2 separate regions of the Homo sapiens genome follow, and region 2 is linked to region 1. Evidence: promoter capture Hi-C in 16 types of primary human blood cells and fetal thymus (Javierre and others, 2016). All regions are on one chromosome and are shown on one strand. Each heading gives the region's core, a stretch centred on a gene start or on the middle of the fragment in contact. The rest is flanking DNA. Distances are from core to core; before and after follow the strand shown.

Region 1 (2,800 bases), core at 207-2,706:
ATAAAAGCCAGGTAAACCATTTGGCCCATCTCTGGTTCTCTTCATTCTGAAATTCAGCCCGATCCTGTAACCCCACAACCTACTGCCTGGCTCCTTCTTCCCCTTCACGGTCACATTTCTGCAAAGAGCGTGTTACGCTCTCTGCTTCCACTTCCTTCCCTCCCTTTCAGTCTTCAGTAGCTGCCATCTCCCTCTCCTCCCTCCTCACCAGGAGACTATGCTTGCCGCTCCTCAGCAGTCCAGCAGACACTTCTCTGACCTGAGGTATCGGTAGCACTGGAATGATAATCCCCCCGCCCCCCTCGACTTGCAACACTGCTTTATTTGGGGTCAAGGAAACACACAGCCCCAGCTTCTCTCCCATCACTCGGCCTCCCCTCTTGCAGATGCCACTATTATCCAGCCACTTGCACGGGCCATCCATGGCTGACCATGGAGTCATCCTTGAGCTTCTCCTTCTCTCAAGGCTCACATTCTTCAGCAAGTCCTGCTTTCACTATTAATTGAGAATCCTCGTTTTCTCAGTTCTTCTCTGCCAGCACCCCAGTCTCAGCCACCCTTGTCTCTCACTTAGGACACTATGGTAGCCACTTGGCTGATCTCTCTGCCTCCACTCTAGCCACCACGCAGCAGCCGGAGTGATCCTGTACATGTGAATCACACCGTGGAACCCCACTTCCTAACCCTCCAAGGCTATCCCCTGATATCCTGGGGTTATCAGGTTACATGTCACCGCCCTATAAACCCTCCCTGAGCCGCCACAGCTGGACTAGGAGCCACTCCTCATCTGTTCCAGGAACACAAGTATATTCTTTCCCAGAGCACCTATTGCCCACTGTGTTCACCATAGCTCCGTGAGCTCAGCGAGGGTTCAGTGAGTGAGTGCATGGCGCCTAGTAAATATTCCACAAAAAAAACTGTGAGTGTAATTGTTTCCCCCACATTTCTAGACATGTAGTATTAACAGATCAAGGAACAGAAAGCAAAACAGGGAAAGCAACGTAAAATTCTGATAATCACAATGATTGCTGAAAAAGTCCCCAAATAGGCAGCAAACATTCTAAAGGGGCCACAGTTTGTGAGTCATTTTATTCTTTTGTAAAGGGTCGGCTTGCGGCAAAAATTAAATGATCTTTGCGTTTGGGCAAGGTCTGGTGCCCCAAAGCTGCCGACTTGATCTGCGGTTGGGGCGAGCGGCAGGTAGGGGGCCCGGAGTTAGGAGGGGGTGTGGGAGCCCGTGGAGCACAGGTGAACTGAGGCCGCCTTCCCGGGGCGCCGCTGGCCAGCCCCAAAGGGTTACTTTGGCCTTGGCTGTGGGCCGAATGCGAAGGTGGGGAGGTGGGCGGGGGATGACTCTGCCATTCCTGGGTCCGCTGTGTTAGGCTGAAGGCAAAAGGAAACCAAGGCCTGGGAGTTTTCCAGGAAACGAAAGCGAAAGAGTCAAAGTTAGCGGCCCGGAGTTGGCGCGGCCCCTGCAGTCCGGCGGAGAGCGGAGCTGAGGATGGCTGTGCCCGGCTCCTTCCCGCTGCTGGTCGAGGGCTCCTGGGGCCCCGACCCCCCGAAGAACTTGAACACCAAGTTGCAGATGTACTTCCAGAGCCCGAAGAGGTCGGGAGGCGGCGAGTGTGAGGTCCGCCAGGATCCCAGGAGCCCATCCCGCTTCCTGGTGTTCTTCTACCCGGAGGACGGTGAGGGGCGCGAGGGGTGGGGTGAGGAGGGGGCACCTCTGCCCTCCCTCCAGGGAAATGGCGGCAGGGCACGCACGGGAGGGTGACCCGCCCGACTTCGGCGGCTGCTGTAGCGGAGGTGGCCGGGGCGGGGGCGGGGGCGGGGGCGGCAGAATGGATTCCGAGCGCACCCGGGGCGCTGCGGTTCCCCGGCGCCCTGCGCTTCCAGGCGCTTAATGGCGCGGCCCGGAGGTGGCGGCGGAACCGCGCAAGTAACTCTTTATCCCTCGATCGTTTTCTGTCTTTCCCTGTTGTGGTGGTGTTATTGTTTGTTGTTGTTGTTGTGGAAGTGAGTCTATCCTCTTATCATCCTTTTCTGTCTTTTCCTGTTGTTATTATTCTTGTGTGGGGAAGGAAACTGATTAAGAAACGTGGCAAGTCACAGAGATTCCTTGTGGTTCTTGGAGATTCCCAGGGGTCCCGGGGTCACTTGGGAGAGGGGCAGAGGCGCTACCTAAAATCACACTGCCTGAATGTCAACGTAGAGCCGTCACAGCGGCCACATTGGAGGGGCTGTCGATCGACCACAGGTGCCCATTGTCGAGGGCCTGCCGGGGCCTCTTCTCCGAGTCTCTAGTGGCCCTCAGATTGGGAGCAAGGATGATATTCTGAAGTGATTGTGGGTTGGGAGATTTGAGCTTTGGAGGGAAAGTCGGCAAAGTTCCCTCCTTACAGACCCACCACTACTTGGTGGGCCAAGAGCCCAGAGGTGATCTGCTGGCTCAAGGGCCTCCCTGGTCTGCAATGGGAAGCCAGTGACCTGCAGCTCCCAGAATGGGCACCTTTTCCACTGGCATCTTATGGATGATGACCTATCGGGATCTAGTCAACCCCTAATTCCGCTTTCATGTCGCTAGATTTGGAGAAGCATTCGGGCCAGAGGAGAGGCAAGGAGGCTGAGGCTGAGGCCATGCAATTAGAGTGCCCAAGCAGGGATCCAAAAAGGAAAAATGAAACAGAAAAAGAATGGCGCACAGAAGGAAGGAAGGAGGGGGACAGGAGATATGCTTGGCTCATGGCCCTTATGAAAACAAAATACCATGTTTTCCTAGGATTAATTTTACCAAGGAGTG
Region 2 (2,800 bases), core at 204-2,703, 260 kb before region 1:
CTCACCACCCATTACGGTCTTTTGCGTTTCTGTTTTCTCCTTACCCATCACTGTATCTTAATAATGCCCAGCCCAAGTGATGGGTAAAGCAGTGATCCTTATTGAGGACTCCCAGCGGACTACATTGGCCTTCTGCAGGTTAAGTGGATATGAATAAGAATGAGTAATTTTACTTTCTGCAAAAAAACACAGAAATGACTGTATATTAATTTAAAATTAGAGAAAACAATGACTCCTTCAAAATGCAAGTGAAATGGGGCAACAATCATTCAAGCTATCTTTAATAAACTTGTAAACCCAGTGATTTTTTTTTTTTTTTTTTTTTTTTTTTTTGAGATGGAGTCTTGCTCTGTCAGCCAGGTTGGAGTGCAGTGGTGCAATCTTGGCTCACTGCAACCTCCACCTCCCGGATTCAAGCGATTCTCCTGCCTCGACTTCTTGAGTAGCTGGGATTGCAAGCTTGTGGTACGATGGCTGGCTAATTTTTTTTTTTTTTTTTTTTTTTTTAGTAGACAGGGTGTCGCCATGTTTGCCAGGCTGGCCTCGAACTCCTGACCTCAAGTGATTTGCCTGCCTTGGCTTCCCAAAGTGCTGGGATTACAGGCATGAGCCACCACGTCTGGACATAAACCCAGTAATTTTGTACGATTTATAAAACAATGTAGTCTGCAGGAACTAAGGCTATGTTTTGCCTCAAATGTTCTTTGTTTTCAGAATAAAATACTTGGTCAGTGGAATCTCTTCAACAAAATAGAAGAGAAGCAGTCATGGAGTGAAGAAATAAATCATCTTTGTTTCTACTCATCTGTCACTTATGCAATACATACAATATGTAAAAAGGAAAAATCCCTGTGTAATAGCCTAAGGCAACCAGCAGCTTCCACGTCGGTTGGATATTAATAAATTTTTTTCTTTACTGTAAAATATACCCATCAGCTTTTTTTTTTTTTTTTTTTTTTGAGATGGAGTCTTGCACTGTCACCCAGGCTGGAGTGCAGTGGCGCAATCTCCACCCACTGCAAGCTCTGCCTCCTGGGTTCACACCATTCTCCTGCCTCAGCCTCCCAAGTAGCTGGGACTACAGGCGCCCGCCACCACACCCGGCTAGTTTTTTGTACTTTTAGTAGAGACGAGGTTTCACCATATTAGCCAGGATGGTCTCGATCTCCTGACCTCGTGATCCACCTGCCTCGGCCTCCCAAAGTGCTGGGATTACAGGCATGAGCCACCGCACCCGGCCACTAGCTTTTCTAAGACACTTTGTTTGTTTTTAAATACCAGACCTCTGCTATGACAATGTTTGATTTTGTAAACTTCAGGTCAAATCATGTCTTCTGAAAAGTAACTGCATATAAAACACGTTGAGACATTTGCTTAAGATGTTGATCCTGGTTTCAAGTAACAGCATAAGGGAATTCCTTTGAATTTTCTTTTATCAAGCACCCTTTACTAACATCACAAAGATGCATGCATATTCCTTCATTTAGTATTTATTGAATGTCTACTATGTGCAAGGCACTCACCCATGGCCTGACAGACCACATTCAAGTACAAAGAATCATTAGAGCCATTCCAAATCTAAGTGTCAGAACACTTTGAAGCAGGATGTAGAGTGGTCAGAATGACTTGAGGTAAAGCAGAAACACTCAACAACCAGTACATTAAAAGGTGATTTTAATTTTTGACATTCCTTGGGATGATATTCCTTTAGGAAGAAGTAGACTGTGTTAAATTCGCATCCATGGCACTGCTTCCTGAGGCAGTAATTCTTCAAAGCCTTTCCTTCCGTGTCAATACTTTCCACATTTGTGCGTTTGAATGGATCCATGTGTTTAGCCATTATTTTACTAAACACAAAATCATTTGCACAAAAAAAAAAAAAAAAAAAACCTATTACCATACTTGTCTGGTCATACAGAATTTTAGCACCACAGAAGAGGAAAGATGTTTGGCCTGAGAGGGCCTACACTCCAGTCTGTGTAACCTAAAAGCAACTTAAGCCTGATTTCGTCATTTTAAGGGTGCTGATGGTAAGCAGGAGTCAGGAAGAATGGTCTAACAAAAAAGGCTGGCCCAGCTGTGGTTGCCAAGTCTAGTTCTGGGAGATCCTGGGCACGGAACTACTGCGTGGCCACTGCTTTCTTCAAGACACAGAATTTGCAGGGCTCTTCCCCGCCCTTGGACAGCCATCTAAGTGTTGTAACCTTGGGGCAAAGTAATTTCTCGTAAGTCTTCACTTTGTCATCTATAATATAGTGACAATTATCAAAGAACATTTGGAAGACTACATGAGAAAAAAGGAAAGCCCTTAGCCAGGTATCTGGTGTACAATAGATGATCAAATAAAGACATGTTACCTTAATTTGACCTACAGGGAAAACACTCTGGGACTTCGTTTACCCTTAGTTGAAAACAGAACGGAACACTTCTTTTCTTTCTTCTTACCCCAAGCTTCCAGATGTATTTTATGTCCAGTAGCAATTTGATATTTTAAATTAGCATATAAATATTTGCTTTATCAGATATTCTGATGTCCTGGTATCCATTGTTATAACCTGTATATAACCTGTAATCCTGAACTGCTGGGATTACAGGCATGAGCCACCACATCCGGCCATAAACCCAGTAATTTTGTATGGCAGATAAAACATTTTATGGAATATTCTTTATGATAGCCAACTTACTGTAGTAGTCACATCTGACCTTTGATAATTTTTTTAAATTAAGTTCTGATGACAGGAAAAGATAGACCAAAATATTTCCCAACCTGGCAGATATATACTTAATCTGTTCAGCTCAC

The links. Contacts are between HindIII fragments. The CHiCAGO score rates a contact against its expected background, and 5 or more counts as called.
Region 2: a fragment that was not itself captured here is called in contact with the fragment with the promoter of PARP14 in region 1 in 1 of 17 cell types (activated CD4 T cells); the score reaches 5.9 in activated CD4 T cells.

What each region holds. Positions count from the first base shown.
Region 1 is chr3:122,679,383-122,682,182 of GRCh38, forward strand. It overlaps PARP14 (poly(ADP-ribose) polymerase family member 14), which reads left to right and starts at 1,457. Exons shown (of 17, transcript NM_017554.3): 1 at 1,457-1,688. The coding sequence starts at 1,502. RefSeq lists enhancers at 445-564, 968-1,740, 1,165-1,564, 2,106-2,195 and a silencer at 1,805-1,854. The HindIII fragment of the contact is 13,941 bases long and covers 1-2,800 here.
Region 2 is chr3:122,420,477-122,423,276 of GRCh38, forward strand. KPNA1 (karyopherin subunit alpha 1) reads right to left here. Exons shown (of 14, transcript NM_002264.4): 14 at 1,426-2,800. The region is part of intron 1 of WDR5B-DT (WDR5B divergent transcript); the gene reads left to right. Among named protein-coding and RNA genes, the nearest start is that of WDR5B-DT, 5.7 kb to the left of the region's middle. The HindIII fragment of the contact is 1,992 bases long and covers 458-2,449 here.